2 separate regions of the Homo sapiens genome follow, and region 1 is linked to region 2. Evidence: promoter capture Hi-C in 16 types of primary human blood cells and fetal thymus (Javierre and others, 2016). All regions are on one chromosome and are shown on one strand. The core of a region is centred on a gene start or on the middle of the fragment in contact, and the rest is flanking DNA. Distances in the headings are between cores, read along the strand shown. Region 1 overlaps CCNK (cyclin K). Region 2 holds the start of CCDC85C (coiled-coil domain containing 85C).

What was found. The method cuts DNA at HindIII sites, captures the fragments that hold promoters and counts their contacts. A CHiCAGO score of 5 or more calls a contact.
Region 1: a fragment that was not itself captured here is called in contact with the fragment with the promoter of CCDC85C in region 2 in 1 of 17 cell types (non-activated CD4 T cells); the score reaches 5.7 in non-activated CD4 T cells.

The regions. Positions count from the first base shown.
Region 1 is chr14:99,485,141-99,489,073 of GRCh38, reverse strand. The region is part of intron 1 of CCNK (cyclin K); the gene reads right to left. It also overlaps a transcript of SETD3 not described here. Among named protein-coding and RNA genes, the nearest start is that of CCNK, 5.7 kb to the right of the region's middle. The HindIII fragment of the contact is 1,592 bases long and covers 530-2,121 here.
Region 2 is chr14:99,601,621-99,605,456 of GRCh38, reverse strand. It overlaps CCDC85C (coiled-coil domain containing 85C), which reads left to right and starts at 1,250. Exons shown (of 6, transcript NM_001144995.2): 1 at 1,250-2,290. The coding sequence starts at 1,498. It also overlaps a transcript of HHIPL1 not described here. RefSeq lists silencers at 46-195, 376-445, 506-645, 786-1,315 and enhancers at 1,576-1,695, 2,402-3,055. The HindIII fragment of the contact is 18,022 bases long and covers 1-3,836 here.

The sequences.
Region 1 (3,933 bases), core at 76-2,575, 120 kb after region 2:
TGAAATCTTAACTTTTTCAATACCAATACCCTCTAAAAGGAAGCAGGTTTCTTTCCAGTCTGGGGTTGGAGCCTGCCTGGGATGTACTCAGACTAATCAAAGCTTATCAAAAGACATAGGACTGCTGAAGGAATGATTTGCTAGGGAAAAAAAAAAAAAAGACATAGGAGCCACCATGATGGGTGCCCACTGGACTAATCCAAGGTAATTTGAATAGCAAAAAGAAAAATAACTGTGGTTGATCATAAAATAGTGAACATACAATCCAAGTGTCCATAATATTAATACATATAGAGAATAATACTTTGCTAGCACTGATAACTACTGATAATAAAATGCTACTGATAATAAATGCGACTTTGCTAGCATGGATATTAACTACTGTAAAAAAAATACAGTTGATCCTTAACAAAATGATCACACTTGACATCACTAATAGGGTGAAAACCTGACATTACATGGCTTCTGATGTGATGCAATGTGAAATAAATATCACCTACCTATGTAGTATTCTTGTCCCCCAAAAGCTTAACCTAAATTTAAGCAAACTTTTGACCGAACTTCCAGTTTACAATAAATACTGGTGGTACAAGAGTAAGTGAAAAAAGCACAACATGGAAACTATCAGTCACATCCAGAAGGTGAGACACTCTACTCAACAACTGACCCGGTCTCTTCAAAACAGTGTTATGAAAAAACATTTTGAGAGACTGTCTTAGATTTAAAAAGGCTAAAGAGGGCTACAACAAAATGCAATGTGTGAACCTTGATTAGATCCTGCTTTTTTTTTTTTTTTAAAAAAAAGAAATTTCAAACAATTTGGAAAAATTTAAGTATAAATTGTATATTAGAGGGTATTAGGGAGGGAATTACTGTCAGTTAATTTTCTTTGGGGGTAATAATGATATTGTGATTACACAGGAGAATGACTTTATTCTTAGCAGATGAAGGCTGAAGTATTTTGGGTAAAGTGTCATGATGTCTGCAACCTACTTTCAAATGGTTCAGCTAAAACACAACCACACAGTAAACATGGCAAAAAACGAACATGTGTCCACAGGTAAATAAGTTGTCATTGCACTATTCTTTCATACAATAAAAAGTTGGGGAAAAAGTCAGATGAGACTGAATAGGAGACCAGGAGGACTCCTTATCTTCATCAATCCCTCGATAGCCAAGGAATACTTGCTTATGTGTGGGTACTGCTTTCATAAATTACAACACTGTGATTTGAATTATAGCATACAAAAAGAAAAGTGAACTAATTATAAGTGTATGGCTGATTGTTTTTCACAAAGTAAACACACCTGTGTTAACACTATTCAGTTGAGAAAGAGAACAGTACCAACATTCCAGAAGCTCTCTTCGTTCTTTCCTAGTGACTATCCTCCCAAAGATAACTATTCTGACCTCTATTTCCATCAATTTGTTTTGCCTGTTTTTGAAGGACTGTGCGATGACACAGTACCACTTTTACATTTGGTTTCTTCTGCTCAATATTAAGTTCATGGGATTCATTCCTGTTGTTGCATAAAGCAGTATTTGTTCATTCTCACTGCCGCAGAGCAGTGGTTTTTAAACCTGGGACAATTTTGCCCCCCAGGGGACATTTGGCAATGTCTGAAGACACTTCTGGTTTTCCTAACTGGGGGGTTGCCACTGGCATCTAGTGTGGGTAGAGGCCAGGAATGTTGCTGAATGTCCTCAGTGCACAGAACAATCCCCCATGACAAGAAATTATCTGGTCCAACATGTCAATAGTGCCAAAGCTGAGAAAGTCTGCTGTACAGTACAGTTATATCCTATGAATGCAACACACTTTATCTATACATTCTACTGTTTGGGCATGTAAATGTTTCTGGTGTTTGATTATTAATAAGTGTTAAACATGTACATATATTCTTATAGAACAGAAGGCAACTGGACAGTTGGCTGAGGGAATCAATATCTTAGCACATCTTAGCAATTTATTCACAGTTGGGAATTGCTACTTTAATATACATACGCCTAACAGTTTTCCATGTACTTTTTCATTTAAATATTTCCTGAGCATTTACTATGAGCCAGGCCTTAATGGCATGGCAGGGCACAAGATAAGTAAGGTCTTTGCCCCAGGAAGCTTACATTCTAGTGGGAGAGACAATAAGAAAGAAATATATGAATATTTGTCAGGGAATCTTAAGTGCCACAAATAATAACGCATGTAAGGGGAGAGAACATAATGAGGTAAGGGCTGTTTAGAGGTATGCAGAAAGAGGAAGAGTTAGGAGATTATAGTAGCAGTTCAAGTAATGCCTAATACACCTGTCTCCACACAATGGCAGCTGGAACAAGGGGTGTGTGTGTCATAATTGGCCATGAGGCAAAGAATGGAAAAAGATGATTTCAAGTTTGACTGACACAGAGGGTGATACTAAAAAGACAAATGGATAAGACAAGAGAAAAAGCTGGTTTTGATAAGGAGGGAGGAAAAGAATTTGGCTCTATAAATACTAAGCTTGAAGAACTTTAAGATCCTTTTGTGGAAATATCTATCAGACAGATAAATAGGCCAGTTGAAGTCTCTACAGAACATATCTACTTGGGGTTCATCTACACAGAGGTGATAACTATAAAGTCATGTTGACGGATGGAGGGATGGAGAGTGAAGAAGGAAGGGGTCTGGGTACAGAACTCTGTGAACTTGTACCAAGTAGGAAGAATCACCAAAGGCGAGCGTTTGCCCAGTGACAGGAAGGTAAAACAGACTTGAATGCACTTATGATTTACCCACTTGCAGACTAAGAATCACCAAATTAGAGAAAGGGAAAAAGACTGGTCCAAGAAGTAGGGAAATTTGCATCCTTTGTTGCAAAACAAACCATGGGATGTCAGCTTTAAACCAGAGATGGTAGTCAACAGTGACAAATGCTAAAGAAAAGTTAAAGGACAAGGAACTAAGGAAAGTTTACTTTAATTGGTGATTAGTTGTTTATTAGAGACACTGAAAATTGTGATGGTTTCATGACTCTGCAAATACTAAAAACGACTGATTTGTACAGTTTAAATGGGTAATTTGTACGGTATAGGATTATATTTCAAGAAAATACATATATACACATATAAATAAAATAACATTTTTAGAAGTGCAATAGGGCAGAAGGTGTAGAAACTGCAAGGGGTGGTAAAGAATGAACAGACTAGGAAATAGGTTATTCTTTTTTATTCATTTTTTAATTTTTTGAGACAGAGTCTCCCTCTGTCATCCAGGCTGGAATGCAGTGGTGCTCACTGCAACCTCCCGCCTCCAGGGTTCAAGTGATTCTCCTGCCTCAGCCTCCTGAGTAGCTGGGATTACAGGCATAAGCCACCGTGCCTGGCTGGAAATAGGTTATTCTTTTGAGGCATCTGTTCTCAAAGAGAGTAACAGGGAATAGTAGGGAGTAGGTTTTGTTATTGTTTTGGTTTTTATATATTTTTCAGCATAAAGGAGAATGAAAAATGTCTGCAGCCAGTAAAAACAAAAAGGAATCACTAGAGGAGTCAGAACAAGGGAGGCTAACTGGTCAAGGGATAATAAAAAGCACAGCAAGAAAGTTAACCTTAGAAAGAAAGCTCTTTCTTCCCCTGAGAATGGAAGGAAAAGTTTGAGAAAGATATTTTTAAATAATCTTTTAAGGGGGAGGAAGTAACTAAAAAATCTCAAGAGTACCTCCATATTCTCTAGGAAGTATAATGCCAAGATATCTGTTGAGGGGAAAGGGGCAGAACGGGGAACAGTGTTAGGAATACCCCAGTAGGGATGAAACTGGAATGGAAAAGAACCTCGGTCCACAAGCGGATAAATCGTAAGTATATTCAATTGTTTTACCTTCTGTAACTGGCCAAACTCCTGGTCCCTTTAGGTTCCAAGGCAGAATATAAACAATTCATGAAATGTAGTGAAAATATTAT
Region 2 (3,836 bases), core at 1-2,500:
CGTGGGCCGCTCACTGTCGCGTGCGCGGATTTGATCTCGTTGCAGGTTCCGGGGGAGGGACCCCCCCCCGCCCCGCCCCGCCCCGCCTGCTGGCGGTAGACGCGCCGTAAATGCGCTTTGGGGACCGGAGGATAACGAGACAGACTTACAGGCAGTGGGAAGCCCGGGGGTCCCGCGAGGCCGCCGGTGGGGAGTTCTGTGGCCGGCTCGGCGCCCCCGGACCCCGGCGTTCAGGCCCCAGTGGGAGACCTTCCCACCCTTCCCAGTGGTTTCCACCCCGCGAATTGCAGATTATCTCCCGAATCCCAGGGATTTAGCGGTCGAGTGAGCGGAGGTGGAGCGGGGCTCCGAGCGCCGCTCCGGGCAGGGGGCAGGTTCCCGGAGCTCTCGCCCCATCGGGGCAGAGAGTACTGACCGCGCTGCGGGACGCGGCTGGCAAGGCCCTGGCCCTGCAGGGGCGCGGACGCCAGCGTTTAGCTCAGCCCTGGGCTAGGAGTGGAGACGCAGCCCCGCCGCGTGCTCCGGCAGGGGACCCGGGTGGGGACGGGGGCGGAGGAGCCTGGGGGCAGGGAAGGGGACAAAGAGCCGCCCTGCTGCGGGGAAGAGCGACCCCCATGTCACAGTCCTATTGTTCGCTGTGTCTCCGACTGCCCTGAACTCTGGTGCCCCCGGGAGGGAGAAGGGGCGCCGTCGCCCGGATCGTGGGTATTTGTTTATCTGGGGAGAGGGAAGAGGACCGGGGACGCGGGCCGGGGAGGGGGCTCGACTGCTATTTTCGCGCGTCGCCTTTAAGGGAAGCCCGGCCCTACCTTTCCCACCGTCCCCCTCCCCGCAGCCGTACCTGCATTTTAAAAGCGCCCTGTAGCCCTGGGATTGGCTAAGGCCGCGTCCTCCGGGCGCAGAAACTTGAACCGCCGGGAGCCGGCCGCGGGCGGGGGTCGGAAACCCCGCGGATGGACCGTACCACCGCCGCAGCTTCCCCCGCGCGCGCCCCGCCCCTCCCGCACACCCCCGGAGCGGCCCAATCGCCCGGCCGGGAGGGCGGGACCGCGGCCGGAACGCGCCTCTGAGAGGGCACTGGACGGGCGGGCGCACCGCGCAGGGGGACGGCGGGGGCCGCGCCTCTGCTCCCCAGTCGCCCTCGGGGGCGGGGCCGGGCCTCGGAGACCCGCCCACTCTCCGCCCGGGGTGGGCGGGGCGGCGGGGGCTCCGGGAGCTGGGCCGGGGGCGGGCCTCCGCCTGCTTCTCCAGAACCCTGAGAGCGCCCGGCACCGCGGCCGCCGACGCAGCAGCCGCCTCCGCTCGTCAACCCCGAGGCGCGCGGGCTCCCGGGCGGCCCCGGCGGGCGCGGCGAGAGGACGCGCCAGGCGGCGCGGGGCGGGCCGCACGCGCCCCCGGCCGCCCCCCGCCCGCGCGCGGACCGGCCCAGCGGAGCCCCGGCGCGGGGAAGCGCCGGCCGGGCGAGGGCGAGGGCGATGCCGCGGTGACGGCCCCGCCATGGCTAAGCCCGCGGCGACGGCGGCGGCGGCGTCGGAGGAGCTGAGCCAGGTGCCGGACGAGGAGCTGCTGCGCTGGAGCAAGGAGGAGCTGGCGCGGCGGCTGCGGCGCGCCGAGGGCGAGAAGGTGGGCCTCATGCTGGAGCACGGCGGCCTGATGCGCGACGTGAACCGGCGGCTGCAGCAGCACCTGCTGGAGATCCGCGGCCTCAAGGACGTGAACCAGCGGCTGCAGGACGACAACCAGGAGCTGCGCGAGCTCTGCTGCTTCCTCGACGACGACCGGCAGAAGGGGCGCAAGCTGGCGCGCGAGTGGCAGCGCTTCGGGCGCCACGCGGCCGGCGCCGTGTGGCACGAGGTGGCCCGCTCGCAGCAGAAGCTGCGCGAGCTCGAGGCGCGCCAGGAGGCCCTGCTGCGCGAGAACCTGGAGCTCAAGGAGCTGGTGCTGCTGCTGGACGAGGAGCGCGCGGCACTGGCGGCGACGGGGGCCGCAAGCGGTGGCGGCGGCGGCGGGGGCGGCGCCGGCTCCCGCAGCTCCATCGACAGCCAGGCCAGCCTGAGCGGGCCGCTGTCGGGTGGCGCGCCCGGCGCGGGGGCCCGCGACGTGGGCGACGGCAGCAGTACGTCCAGCGCGGGCAGCGGCGGCAGCCCCGACCACCACCACCACGTCCCACCCCCGCTGCTGCCCCCCGGGCCGCACAAGGCCCCCGACGGCAAGGCAGGAGCCACACGTCGGTCCCTGGACGACTTGTCGGCGCCGCCGCACCACCGCAGCATCCCCAACGGCCTGCACGGTAAGGACTACACGGGCCGGGCAGCGCGGGTCTCCCTGGCTGCAGCCCTTTTCCCAGGCTGCGGCGAGAGGAGGTGGTCCCTGGCTGTCCCACTCATGCGGCCGCCACTCCAGACTCCTCCAGCTGTCATGGATCCTGGGCCAGGGGATCCCGCACTCACCCAAAGTGGGGCTTTGGGCGGTGGTGGGCCGGTTCAGTGGTGGAGCGTCTTTTTGTCCAGCTCAGAACCTGCTGCCGGTCCGGTCCCAGAAAAGTTTCTAGCGGGTGTAGTTGCCAAAATTAGGGTCTGTCACTGCTGGGCTGGCGGTGGGCGCCTCATCCCAGCCTTGGAAATCCTTGCCTAGTAGCGGGAAGTTCTAAACAGCAAAGGATACAAGGCCCCTTGAGCGCAAGTGAATTTCCCCTCTTGCAGCAACAGGTGTCCTCCAAACCAAGCAGCGTCCACGTGTGTGCGGTGGCTGGAGTTCTGCAGTGGGGTGTGGGGATTGGGAAGGTGCACAGGCAGCCGCTTGAGACCCAGAGGCAGTTGGGGAGAGGCCTGGGGCTCAGAGCCTTTCTTGTTTGCCATAAATTCCGCCCTTCTAGTCCTGGGACCTTTCTCAGCCGAGACTCTAAGACTTTCCCGAGGGAGATGTATTTGGAACGGATTCTAGCTTTTCTCCTCTGTGTGCCTCAGTTTCTTTGTCTGTGAAATGGAGATGATGACCTCTGCCTCGTGGGTTTGAGGTGGAGATAAACCTTCTGAAGGGATTTATAAACTGTTGATCGCCTTACAGGAAGTGCCGTGGTCATCCGTGACCAGGGTGTGGGTGGGAGGAACTTTGGCCTCTGTCAGCTTCTGTCTTCTACGCCCATGTTACTGCTGCGCCCAGTGCAGAGGGTGGCCCCAGCTTGGGGCTGTGGGAGCTTGCAGCCTGCTCCCTCTCCCAGCCCCCTGCTCAGCCCTTCTGCTCCCTGCCAGCTTTCTCCTCCTCGCTGGTGGATCCGGGGCCTCCCTGTTCTTCCACGTTTTTTGGTAGCTTGGCTTCCAGTTCTGCTGGTAGTTGCAACTGCCTGAACTTTTTGCCTGAAGGTGGAGAATGAACAGCTCTTTCTGGTTCCCTTTAAAGCCTTTCCTAATTCAGAGAAAGTGTGTCTAAGCCTGCAATAACTGCCCTCCCCAGAACCCCTCAGCCTGAGCTGGGGAGGGACGTTTTCTCCTTAGTTTGGTGGCCAAGTGGCCTCTGCAGACGTGTTGGGGTGGGGGCTGGGGTGGGAGACATACCCATGGAGGTGGGGCAGGGGCAGTGCAGCATGTTTTTCCTTTATTTACCATCCTGAGCCTGTGGGTTCAAGGCAGGACTGGGTTTAGAGGGATATTTTGTTACTGATTAGCAATCTATGGCTACAACTCAGGTTTCTCTTTGTAACACTGTATCCACCCCCACCTCCCACCACAGGCTGCTTCAGGGCAGTGGGAGTAGCGCAAAGTTAGGTGGTTTAATTTGCTGGGGCTGTTCAGAGCACCTCAGCCCCTTTGATTTTGCCGTCCTGGGGGCTTTTGAGG